Linked DNA regions of Homo sapiens: all the other regions are linked to region 1. Evidence: promoter capture Hi-C in human tissues and cell types (Jung and others, 2019). All regions are on one chromosome and are shown on one strand. Each heading gives the region's core, a stretch centred on a gene start or on the middle of the fragment in contact. The rest is flanking DNA. Distances are from core to core; before and after follow the strand shown. Region 1 holds the start of B3GALT2 (beta-1,3-galactosyltransferase 2). Region 2 overlaps LOC124904475 (a long non-coding RNA gene). Region 3 overlaps LOC124904475 (a long non-coding RNA gene). Region 4 overlaps LOC124904475 (a long non-coding RNA gene).

What was found. Contacts are between HindIII fragments. The study calls those that stand out against the background at their distance.
Region 2: a contact is called between a fragment that was not itself captured here and the fragment with the promoter of B3GALT2 in region 1, in 1 of the 25 tissues and cell types used here (H1 embryonic stem cells).
Region 3: a fragment that was not itself captured here is called in contact with the fragment with the promoter of B3GALT2 in region 1 in 1 of the 25 tissues and cell types used here (mesenchymal stem cells).
Region 4: a contact is called between a fragment that was not itself captured here and the fragment with the promoter of B3GALT2 in region 1, in 1 of the 25 tissues and cell types used here (mesenchymal stem cells).

The regions. Positions count from the first base shown.
Region 1 is chr1:193,184,823-193,188,116 of GRCh38, forward strand. B3GALT2 (beta-1,3-galactosyltransferase 2) reads right to left here and starts at 1,791. Exons shown (of 2, transcript NM_003783.3): 1 at 1,197-1,791. The region is part of intron 10 of CDC73 (cell division cycle 73); the gene reads left to right. The HindIII fragment of the contact is 2,577 bases long and covers 163-2,739 here.
Region 2 is chr1:193,694,429-193,697,722 of GRCh38, forward strand. The region is part of intron 3 of LOC124904475 (a long non-coding RNA gene); the gene reads left to right. Among named protein-coding and RNA genes, the nearest start is that of LINC01031, 390 kb to the left of the region's middle. The HindIII fragment of the contact is 5,530 bases long and covers 1-3,294 here.
Region 3 is chr1:193,669,954-193,673,247 of GRCh38, forward strand. All of the region lies in intron 3 of LOC124904475 (a long non-coding RNA gene), which reads left to right. Among named protein-coding and RNA genes, the nearest start is that of LINC01031, 370 kb to the left of the region's middle. The HindIII fragment of the contact is 3,906 bases long and covers 1-3,294 here.
Region 4 is chr1:193,482,751-193,486,044 of GRCh38, forward strand. All of the region lies in intron 3 of LOC124904475 (a long non-coding RNA gene), which reads left to right. Among named protein-coding and RNA genes, the nearest start is that of LINC01031, 180 kb to the left of the region's middle. The HindIII fragment of the contact is 3,425 bases long and covers 1-3,275 here.

The DNA of each region.
Region 1 (3,294 bases), core at 541-3,040:
GTAAACTTGTTTAATCTTCATTTTGGAATGCAGTACTTACATATTTTTAAAAAATGTTTGCCTTTTGTGATTATTAGATAATTACTGAGTTGTGTTGTGAAATTGAGGAAAAATCAGGATCTTTGATAGATTTGTAGAATTTTAGAAATATCTTTAAGTTCTTGAGCCCTGAGTTGCTGTTCTATGATTGTTGCTAAAATAGTTTATTTGGTTTATCTGTGCCCTGCACACACATATAGTGGCGGTAGTTCATTACTGCATATTAATATAGCCTGGAAGCATAGTAGCTACATTTATATTTAATTTTTTGACCTTGTATTGCCATTTGTGGATATTTTTGTATCAAAGTATTTCCATATTATGTTTTTGAATTTCACTTCTGAAATGATAATCAGAGACAACGTTAAATTTGATCATTTGGAATCAGTCTTTTACATAAAATGTAAGCTATTTAAAATAGTTAATTTTTAAAGCCACTATTGATGTCCCTTTGTTTAAAGTTCTATTCATGGTCACTATAATAACACGAGGCTCTATTGTGGGGTTATGCATAAACTCACACTACCTTATGTGATCTTATGTTAATGCTTTCCTTTTAGTATCTTCTTGTAGCTTGGTAATATTTAAAATTTGTTGATACTCTCTTTGGTTGTGTTCATTATCTTCATTTAGGGAGATGTTGGGGAAGATTTTGTTACTAAAAGCTGTTACATATTAAGGTTTTGTTTTAAAAGGACTTTGAAAAAAAAACTCTTAAGGTTTTCCTTGCTACTATTTAATGAAATTTCACTGCATTGTGTCTTTTGATAGCCATTTTTAAGAGAGCATTTAATTTACTAGATAAGGATTCAGTTTGACCTAATTTGATAGAATATTGCTGTGTTTTTTGTAAAGGGCTACAGATTTTTTTTTAAGTTTAATTTCTTAAGGAATCCTTTAAACACATCTTCTTCTTATTTGCCTTTTCCCTCTGATGTCTATTACCCAGAATTACTCCAAGCTACATATTTAGCTGCATAAAGCAGTGACAGCTTGTCTTCTAAACAATGACAAATTTTAAAATCAGATATTAAGAAACCTTTTCATAGTTTCAAGGGCAGTGAGCTGTATGAACTTGCTTATCAGGTATTAGTGCCTCCAGGGCTATAAAAAGGTAACACATTTAAATGACTATCATACACAAGATATTGACATACCTTCCTTGGTCAGGCCATTTATGTGAAGAGGATTATGCCCACTGAAAATACTTTTGGCACGCCATCACTTCAGCAAAAAAGATGCTATCGAACATGCGCACATCCCCCAACAGTCTGCCTCCTGCGATTGCTTTTCACAGTATCCAAAGTGTCCATCTGTCTGCTTGTCTTCGAGTTACCCTCCTTGTTCATATGGGTCCTAGTCTTCTGAAATTTTCCCTTTCTTTCATTTTCTCTCTTTCGTTAAACAAAAGAGCTGTAGTTGCCCGTTCTGCTTGTAGCACTGTTGACTCTTCCCGACAGTTGATGCATTGAAGCTTTTTACATCTGCTATTTTCCTGGCTGGACAATGCAGTGCTGTGTTCTCGTCTCAGTATCCATATTTCTACTAATAACACTGAGCTGCAATGTAAAGCAGCCAGAGCTAAAATGTAGTGCTTCAGTTGTATTGGAAAAGAATAGGATTTACCTCTCTTCTTTCGTTGTTGCCTGGCAGCTGCAGGAAGGATTTTGAGCAGTTTTAATGGGGTTTTAGTCTATAATATGAAATCCACGGTTCCTCAGCTGCTGCACAGGCAGGCAGCAGTTTAAATGTGGGCTTGACAGATGCTCTCTCTGACAGAGCAGAATTTAACGTCACTGCTTGGCTGAATCCCACGTGATTGTTTGCATTCATTTTGACTAAAAACCTAAGGTAGGGAGAAGCTTAGAGATTTTGCTTTTATGTGATAAATTATATATGTTGAATGCAAGTGTAGTGATGAGTGAATAATTTGAAAATGTGATGATTATGAAATGGTTATGATTTTATTTTTTCCAGCTTACTTCCTTTTTTAACTTTATTCTTAAGTACAGGCTTTCTAAGTGTTTTCTGTGTTAGATGTTGGTTTTCATGTTTCTTACATGCTTTTGTAGGGTGTAAGCAGTATAAGCTTTTGTGTGTAAGTTGGTGTAATTTAACCCCTTCAGTGCATTCTCTTCTTGAAGTTTTTTTTCTCTGCTTTCAAATTGCTCTTGATTTTTTACTAATATGTAGTTAAGACCTATGGTTTCTATTGAAACCATGTATCTTTGTAATTTAGATCCCCCCCCCCGTTTTCTGGGGTTTGTATAAATAAGCTGTCTTGGATTACTTTACTAATGCATGATGTGATACAGCCCACTTCTTTTTTGCTCTTATGTGGTTTTTGGTGTTCTTGATGGCAGAAAACTTTATTTTAAATCACTTTTTAATGTTGTCATTTATTTTTTATTTATTTTTCCTTCCCTTTAAAATTACATGTATCGTAGAATTCAGTAAAATGATGTAATAGATATAGCACACTTGTACAGGATCTGGGGGTAATGAGATTTTACTAATTATGTTTACTTATTCTAATGTTTCAGAAAGATTTAATAACTTGCCATGAGGCAGATTTTATTAACACTACACACTCACTGAGATTTTTCTAATATGGTTAGTTTCTGGGGCTGGCACCTTCTTTTCTTACTGCAGAGCAGTAGGGAAGGTTTTTTTAAATTTTTTGTTGTAGTAAAAAGCCTTTATTATCAGTTTTTCCTCTGTGACTCTAGGGACAGTAATTCAGTCCTAGAAAGTTATAGTTTTGGAGCTTAAGCTAAAGGTTAACAGTTATATACATATTCTTCATCTCACTGCCTCCACCATTAATATATGCTATTTCAAATGAATATGAATTTGTTTTCTCTGATATTAAAAAAAATTTTGTCCACATATTTTTGAGCTTTGCTGATGAAATGTGCTTTGTAGTTTTAAGAACCCCACTGTATTAGAAATGTTAGAAGGATCGTTAAAGAAAAAAAAGAATTTTATAAATAGGAAACCTAAAGCCTAGACTGAGCTTTGACTTTTCCTAGTTAAGTTTGAAGGAGAGGACTAAAACCCAACTTCCTTGTAGTCTATATCCACCCATACTGCAATTCTCACTCACTACCGTTTTGTTTTTAAAATTAGTTTACTAGTTAACAGAGTAATGCTTAAGAACTTACTTAAAATAACTTATTTTCCAGAAGTACAGATGTGTTTTTGTAGATCAGTATTTATTTATCAGTGATTCTTTACATAGGATTTGACTATGAA
Region 2 (3,294 bases), core at 407-2,906, 510 kb after region 1:
CTGCACATCTCTTTGCAACACTGCATTCAGTGACATCAGTTTGATAGCTTGAAATCCACCTTGGGAGTATTTACACTTCAAAAATAGACAAGCACTGCATTTATGTACCCACTTTGAAACTTCAAAAGGCAGTCATCAGAATGACTATTATTTATAAAAAAGATAAGTCTTGGAGAGGGGTTGGAGAAAAGGGAACCCTTGTACACAGTGGGTAGAAATGTAAATTGACATAGCCATTATGGAAAAAACTATGGAAGTTCCATAAAAAATTAAAAATAGAACTACCCTATGATCTAACAATCCCACTCTGTATACATAACTAAGGAAAATAAAATCAGTACCCCAAAGAGAGATCTGCACTCCCATGTTCATTGTAGCGTTATTCACAGTAGCCAAGATCTAGAAACAACCTAAGTGTTTGCCAGTGGATGAATACATAAAGAAAATGTGGTGTATATACACAATGGAGCATTAGCCTATAAAAAGAAGGAAATCCAGTCACTTAAAACAACATGAGTGGAGCCAAATGGCATTATGTTAAGTGAAATAAGCCAGTTACAGCAAGACAAATACTGCATGATCTCACTTATACATGTAATCTAAAAAAGTTGAACTCATGGAAGCAGAGAGTAGAATGGTGGTTGCCAGGGGCTGAGGTTTTTGGGAATGGGAGATGTTGGTCAAAGGATACAAAGTTTCAGCTATGCAGGATGAATAAGTTCTGAGACCTAATGTACAGCATGCTGACTGGAGTTATTACTGTATTGTGTAGTTAAAATTTGCTGAAAGTAAATCTTAAATGTTCTTGCTATACGTACATATATATACCCAAAATAGTATGTTTGTGAGGTGATAGATATGCTAATTAGCTTGATCCCAATGATTACTTTACACCTATGTATATATGTAAACATCAAGCCGTGTACCTTAAGTATGTAGAATTTTAAATTTTAAATTATACCTCAATAAACCTGGGGAAATAACGCAGTTATTAAATGTTTACCAGCACACCACTTACTCATATGGAAGGCTTACCCTCTGTTTTTGTTTCAAAGGGTAGAATCACAACCTCATTAACATTCATTTTCTTTAGTCCAAATTTGTCTCTTCTCACCTTGTTGGGCTTGAGTGAAGCAGATGGCAAATCTGTGAACTAATTAATCACTGCTCTTGAGGTTATATATTGTGTTTAAGAGAGCTAATGTAGGACACAGATTAGACTAACATTTCCCAGATTAAGCCACAAACATACAGAATTTACCTTGCTAAAGCCATAGCAATGGAGAGAGCAAGTGAACCCAGAATAAAACGGACATAAAAAAGCTTGTTTATTGCCTTGTCAGTGGTGAAACTCCTTGTAAAGACATGGATTAAATGAATATTCATCATAGATAAATATTCATTCAGTGATTGAGCTGGTGCTTTGTCATGATGAGAGCAAGTTAGGAGTCCATCAATAAATTAGCACTTGGGGGACAAATATTTATCTCTAACAATTATGTTATAATGGCTCCAAAGTACAGTACATGAGAGCAAACGTATGGTGATGTTAAGATGCTTTTAGATATATTACAGCTAAGTGTCATGTATTATTTTTATGTTACATATACTAAACTCTTTGTCATTGTTACTTCACATTTATTGGGCTGTAATGATTTTTTTTTTTTTTTCATTGAGGAAACCTAGAAGACTAAGTGAGCTTAGAATCTTGATGGAAAATTATATATAAAATAAACGTGAAAAAAGGATAAAATGATATTTAAGAAGAAAAAGCATTTTTGTAAAAGATTGTAAGTCGGTGAGAAATGTTTTTTATAGGATTAATATTTAGCTTGGTTCTGCGTAAAACTGTGTATAAATTTATCTAACTACATCAGAGACTGGCAGTATTTCTATTAAGGGCCAGATAGTAAATATTTTAGGCCTTCTAGGTCATAGAGTCTCTGTTGCAGTGTTTCAACTTTGGCACTGTTGTTGGGCAGAAGCAAGCAGAGACAATATATAAATGGAGTGGCTGTGTTCCCATGAACTACCAGGATTGTAGTGTGCCATGCTTGATCTGTAGCAATAGAGATTTGGTGATCACTCCAGTTACTTTTCTCAAAACAGAAGTTCTCCTTTAGCACCTGAATTGTTTTACCAGAAGTTTTATTTTGATCATATTATTTGGGAAATTCCCAAACTTTACTCTGTTTGCACTATGGAGATCAACTGTGGCAAAGAAATAAGGGTGCATCTTCACTATCAGATGGGGACTGAGATAACTATCTAGATATTTTAAACTCCAAAATATTTCCTCAACTCTCTGCATGTACTATGTGAAAATATTGTTTATCTGGATATGCTCAAGCTGTTCATGTAGTTTTCGTATTTAGCAGTGTAATGTCAAATTTGTTAGTTATAAGGTAACTATTAGATTTCTTGGTTAGGAAATTTGACTGCATTGGCTTAAGGACCTTTCTTTTTAAACATGAAATTCTAACAGAAAGTAAGATAAAAGTTTGGAAACCGAGGCCAAAATAATTAACCCATACCAGGACACATGGTTCCTATGTGAAACTGTACTGACAACAAGCAAACATAACTTAGCCACTAACTCCTGGACGATCACAACGTGAATCAACTAAAGTAGCTTACTTATCAAGAGTGATGGTTAATTTTATGGATGAACTTGACTGAACCACAGGGTTCCCAGGTATTTTTTCAAGCATTATTCTTGGTGTTTCTGAGACTTTTTTGATGAGATTAACATTTACAGACTGAGTAAAGTAGATTGCCCTGTCATATAGGTGGGCCTAATCCAGTCAGTTGAAGGCAGGAAGAGAACAAAAGGCTGTCCCGCCCAGGAGTAAGGGAGAACTTTTCCTGCCTGGAGGCTTTCAAATTAGGATATCTATTGTTTTGCCAGACTTCTGACTCAACAGAAATGCCAGCTCCTCCTGGGTCTCAAGGCTACTGGCCTTTGAACTGGAACTGTTCTGTACTCAGACTGGAACTAAACCATTAGCTCTTCTGGGTCTCCAGCTTGCTGACTCACCTTGTGGATCTCAGGACGTGCCAGCCTCCATAATTTAATCCTTATAATAAATTTATTTATTATATAATAACATTTATATATTTAGATACATTTATATATTAATCTAATAATATTTATTATATAATGAATTTATTATATAATGAATTTATTATAATATGCAATATATATATATTTATGTATTATACACACACACATCAAGACTTGTTTCAATACTTGCCACACTGCACTCACTACTTCAAAGATATTATGTCATAAAC
Region 3 (3,294 bases), core at 450-2,949, 490 kb after region 1:
TTCTACTGTCTATCTCCACAAATTCAATTGTTTTGATTTTTAGATTCTACAAATAAGTGAGAATTAGAAATTATTTTTCTTATAAGTAGCATCCTTGATTATTTAAAAATACTTCTACATTGTGAAAACACAATGAAATTATCTAGATGTACATCAACTAAGTGATATCACAACAAAATATCTTTAAAAATATATATGTCAAAAAGAGAGAAAGATTTGCTATCACAGTAGTCTCAATGGCTAATCTAAATACCTACACAGGAAAACTTATGGTATCTTGTTTCATATAACTGTTTAATTCTGTTTGCAGTGAAGAACTGAGGTGGTTTTAAAATACTGAAATATGTTAATCTCAAAACTATTTACTTTGAAGAAATGTTTTATTGGATTTAATGATTTAGAAGCAAATTGTATACTGTAGGCATGCAATAAACATAGATTTTTCTATTTTATGGACATATTGCAGAAAGGGAAATACTATTTTTATTTTTGAAGTACTTTTTCTGCTGTCAAAAGTAGCCCCAAAAGGTAAGCAAAGTAATGAATGAATAATGAAAGCCTCTGGAATTAACTTTTTTCCATTTATTTATTTATTTATTTATTTTATTTATTTACAATATGCAGGTTTGTTACATAGGTATACATATGCCATGTTGGCTTACTGTACCCATTAACTGGTCATTTACATTAGGTATTTCTCCTAATGCTGTCCCTCCCCCAGCCCCTCACCCTACGACAGACCCTGGTGTGTGATGTTCCCTGCCCTGTGTCCTTGAGTTCTCATTGTGCAATTCCCACCTATGAGTGAGAACATGCAATGTTTTGTTTTCTGTCTTTGTGATAGTTTGCTGAGAATGATGGCTTCCAGCTTCATCCATGTCCCTGCAAAGGACATGACCTCATCCTTTTTTATGGCTGCATAGTGTTCCATGTGGAATGAACTTTTTTTGGTAATTTTTAAAATGAAGATTGACAATAAAGTAACTAGATCAGTGAGTGTGAGTGTCCTCGTAAGCAAAAATGACTTATAGTAGAGCATGTACTTTAAGTTGTCAGATAATGATACTGAGGGATTTATAATGGTACAGCCAAAGTCTGCTATTGTTATCAGATGCTAGGCATGAGCTAGATGAAATGGGTTTAGAGGTGCAGTATATGAAGCTACTGGCTAACTGAGCCCTCTTAACATAATATTGTAATGATAGATAATTTTGTAATCATCCAAATGTCTGTTAATTTTATTATATTGTTGCCTCAAACAATATCTCTTTCAGTGGTTGGAATTATGGCACATAGAGAGCTACAGATGAATTATAGTACTGGTTGATCTAATTAAAAAACAAATCTCTTCCAGCTTTTTCTTAATAATTATGAGCCATGTAACACATGCAGAATCCTTCCTTCTGGTCTTGTGAAGGCATCACAAACTAATCAATGTGCTGATGCTCAGTTGGTTAAAGTACCGAATCTACTTTCACATACTTCCAGCCCACTGCAGATAGTTTGGGCTATTTGGCTTGTTTTGGCCAATAAGCTGTGAAAAGAAGTGATATCTACTACCTAGACACTAAAGCAGAGAATAGTACCTGAATTGTCAGCTGTCTACCTCCTGGAAGGTCGGAGGAGGTTCCATCATCCAGGTGGTGCAGTTACAGTTTGCTGGAGTCTGTGTCAGCCTATGTTCTATCCCGTGCAACTCCTCCCACCCCTGCAATTGAATTTAAGGATGTATCCTGGCTAACGCAAGTACAATTTACAATAACAACAAAAACAAATGCTAGTAAATGTTAACTAGTAAGAAACACATACATTCACAATTACTTCAAAAACTTAGATTGCTAGTCTATAGAGAACAGTTTGTGTAAAGGCATGGAGTCATGAAGTGACTTGATTGCTAGGGGAACTGCTGCTGGACTGTACTGAGTAGAGCATGTAATTCTTGGGGAGTCATGGCAAGGTGTTAACTAACTCATAGGTTTGCCTGGCTATGCTGTATATGTTTACATTTGTAACAAAATTAAGAGAGCCCATATCATTCAAACTCTTAAAGAAAACCTGAATGAGAACTTCAAAATAGTAATCACTCATTGGTTGCGATGATTACTTATAAGAACTTATCAACCAGCTTTCCACATTACTTCTGACCTCCAAGTATAATAGTTAATGACCCTGTAGTGCATAAGGTCACAATGTCCACATAACTATTTCTTCTAGACCAATAATTGTCAATCTTTCCTAGACATAAGAAATCCCTGGGAGTCTATAAAAAATGCAGGATGCCAAAGCCACACTAAAGACTGATTAAATCAGAATATCTGGGAGAGGTCCTAGTCATCTGTATTTTGCAGAGATCCTGAGATACAAGATACAGCCAAAGTTGAGAACCACTGTTCTAGAAAGGAGAAATATGCTATTATATCATATATGCTTCTTCATCTTTGATATGTATAAAAAATTACAAAAGCCATTATTTCCACCTTAGTAATAACTTTCTACTGGTTTATGGGTATGTGGTATGTTGTCATTTCTAATGACCAAGTTTCCTTGAATGATTTAACTGCCTTTTCCTTAGGAGTGTTATTTGAAAAGAATAGTAATACCTCTGGGGAAATCTTAAAATTCCCGATTTCTATGTTTCAAGGGCTAGATTAGAGTTTTCCCAGGTTTTGATCCATTAATTTACTTCCTCAAGGCCTTAGCTAGACAAGGAAAGTGCCATGTGGGAGCTGACATTCAGATAAAATCACTACATGTGTTTGTTTGAAGGTAATTATTGAAGTAAACACATTTGACATTATTCCAGTGTGCCAGGTGCAGGATATGTGTATGTACAAATGTGTGTGTCTTGGGAACAACAATACATCCTTGGTGTATTAAAGAATTGGTAAAGAAAAATACTTGATATTTACACAGTGGGAAATTTTTTTTGAAGCTTTTGCATCTTTATGAAGTCTTTGCAAAGCCTGAATTTGTTGGCACAAGTAAATTCCATCTGTTGCTCTTAAAGAAATATTGACTTGCACTTTATTATTTGGAAAGACATGGGTGAAATAAGTTTACATATAGGTGTTTGATATGGTTTGGCTCTGTGTCCCTACCCAAATCTCATCTTGAATTGTAGTTCCCACAATCCCCACATGTTGTGGGAGGGAAGTGATTGGATCATGGGGGTGGGTTGCTCCATGCTGTCCTTGTGACTGTGAGTTCTCATGAGATCTGATGGTTTTATATGTGTTTGTCATTTCCCATGCTCCAGCATTCTCTCTCTTGCTGCCCTGTGAAGAGGTGCCTTCT
Region 4 (3,294 bases), core at 313-2,812, 300 kb after region 1:
TTTTGGCTTTGGAAACTTTCTTCAGACATGGATGCTCACCTGTAAGTCTCTCTGTGTGAAAGAGATGAAACATTGTGTGGTGGGGGTGGGGGTTCTAAATCCCTGTTCTAACAAGGTCACCTCTGAAAGCTCCTTGGAGTTGGAGCAGCTTTCCGTTTGTCTTCTGGTGGGAGGGAGGACTTGTAGGGAGAGACATGTACAAGCACTCACTCCTTTTGCCATGGAGGTGGGTACAATGTGTTTAATGTGTTCTAAGGGCTTCTTGCCTGTTTAGATCATGAACTACAAATTAGTTGAGAATGAACCGAGTACATTAAATATACATAATTATAACCTAGAATTATAAACTTATTAGAATAAGCTTCATATGCCTTGAGGAATGCGTTTAATAGGTAGTACTGTATTTAGGCATGGCTATATTCACTTTATCCAAACAGACAACTTCTCTTAAGTTATTTCATTGTTTGCCTGGTAAAGTTACTGGAACTGTAGTGACCTTCAAATAATAGAATAAGTTAATCTTAGATTTGTTGCTTATTTACCTGATAAGAGTAAAATAACTTTCTACATATTATACATATAAAATATTTTAGCTCCTACAATCAAATTAACATATTCACTTCAGTTACCTTTTTTTTGTGATGAGAACTGCTCTCATATCTCATCACATTTAAAGTATAGGTTAACTACAGTCACCATGCTATACATTAGGCCTCCAGAGCATATTAGTCTTTTTATATTAGTCAAATTTTGTTTTTAATTTTTTTTAACTTTTAAGTTCAGGGGTACAAGTGCAGGTTGTTACACAGATAAACTTGTGTCATGGGGGTTTATTGTACAGATTATTTCATCACCCAGATATTAAGCCCAGTACCCATTAATGATTTTTTCCTGATGCTCTCCCTCTGAAAGGCCCCAGTGTGTGATTCCCCTCTGTGCACGTGTGTTCTCGTCATTTAGCTCCCACTTAGGAGTGAGAACATGCGGTATTTTTTTTCCTGTATTAGTTTGCTAAGAATAGTGGCCTCCAGCTCCATCCGTATCCCTGTAAAGGACTTAATCTTTTCCTTTTTCATGGTTGCATGATATCCCCTGGTATATCTGTACCACATTTTCTTTAGCCCATCCAGAAATATTTGACCTAGCAATCGCATTACTGGGTAAGTACCCAAAGTAATATAAATCATTCTATTTTAAAGACACATGCACATGTATGTTCATCGCAGCAGTATTCACACTAGCATGGTCTTATAACTACAAGTTTGTATTCTTTGACCAACATCTCCCTCCCTGACCTTCTATGCTATATCTATGAGTTCAACTTTTTAAGAATTCACATATAAATGAATCATGCAATATGTCTTTCTGTGTTTGGCTTATGTCACTTTGCATAATATTCTTCAGGTTCATCCATGTTACAAATGAAAATTGTTTCTTCTTTTTTTTTTTTTTTTTTTTTTTGAGATGGAGTCTCACTCTGTCACCCAGGCTGGAGTACAGTGGCGTGATCTTGGCTCACTGCAAGGTCTGCCTCCCGGGTTCATGCCATTCTCCTGCCTCAGCCTCCCGAGTAGCTGGGACTACAGGCGCCCACCACCATGCCCGGCTAATTTTTTGTATTTTCAGTAGAGACGGGGTTTCATCGTGTTAGCCAGGATGGTCTCGATCTCCTGACCTCGTGATCTGCCCGCCTAGGCTTCCCAAAGTGCTGGAATTACAGGCATGAGCCACTGCACCTGGCCGAAAATTGTTTGCTTTTTAAAGGTTGAATAATTTGTGTATACACAAAATATACGTATCCTATTTTGTGTATGTATATATGAGAGACATATATCATAGACTTACATGTGGAAGATATGGAAACAACCCAAGTATCCATCAACGAATGCATAGGCAAATTGTGTATACACACCACAATTTATCCATGCATTCACTGATGGATACTTGGGTTGTTTCCATATCTTGGCTGTTGCAAATAGTGCTGTAATGAATGTGCTGTAATGAATGTGAATTATCTTTGAGATAGTGATTTTATTTCTTTTATGTATATGATGCACATATGATGATGGTCCCATAAAATCATACCACATGTTTATGGTACCTTCTCTATGTTTAAATATGTTTAGATACACAAACGCTTACCATTATGTTGTGATTGCCTACAGTATTTTTTACAGTAACATGCTATTCAGGTCTGCAGCCTAGGTGTGTAGTAGCCTATAGAATCTAGGTTTGTGTAAGCATACTCAATGACATTCATGTGACAAAATTGTCTAAGGAAGCACATCTCAATGTATTTCTGTTGTTAAGTCATGCGTGATTATATACCAAGAAGTGGGATTGCTGGATCATATGTTAGTTGCATTTTAATTTTTCAATGAATCTTCATACTGTTTTCCATAATGACTGAACCAATTTACATTTCCACCAACAATGTATAAGGGTTCCCTTTTCTTTACATCCTTAACACCTATCTTTTGACTTTGATAATAGCCATCATATGTGAGGTGGTATCTCATTGTGATTTTTCTCTGCTTATCCCTGATAATTAGTAATGTTGAGCAACTTTTCATTTACCTGTTGGTCATTTGTATGTGTCCGTGCTGCCCAAAGCAATCTACATATTCAGTGCAATCCCTGTCAGAATTCCAATGGAATTTTTTACAGAAATATAAAAAACAATTCTAAAATTCATATGGAACCACAAAAGACCTGGAATAGGTAACACAATCTTGAGCAAGAACAAAGCTATAGGCATCATACTTCCTGACTTCAAATTATATTACAAAACTGTAGTAATCAAAACAATATGGTACCAGAGTAAAAACAGACACATAGACCAATGGGACAGAATAGCGATCCCAGAAATAAACTCATGCATATATTGTCATCTAATCTCTGACAAAGCCGGCAAGAATATGCCACAGGGAAAAGATAGTCTCTTCAATAAATGGCATTGGTGAAACTGGATATCCACGTGCCAAAAAAAATCTGATTTCACCATACATACAAAGAAACTAACAATGGATTAAAGACTTAAAAACTGGAGCCATAAAACTTAGAAGAAGACATAGGGGAAAAACTCTATGACACTGATGTTGGCATTGATATTTTGATATGACACTAAAAGTACAGGCAACAAAGGCAAAAAAGAGTGGGACTAAATGCAACTAAAACATTGTGGCATAGCAAAGGAAACAACAATATGAGAAGGCAGCCTATAGATTAGAAGAGAATATCTGCAAACTGTATAGCCAATAAGGGGTTAATATCTAAAATACACATGGAACTTGT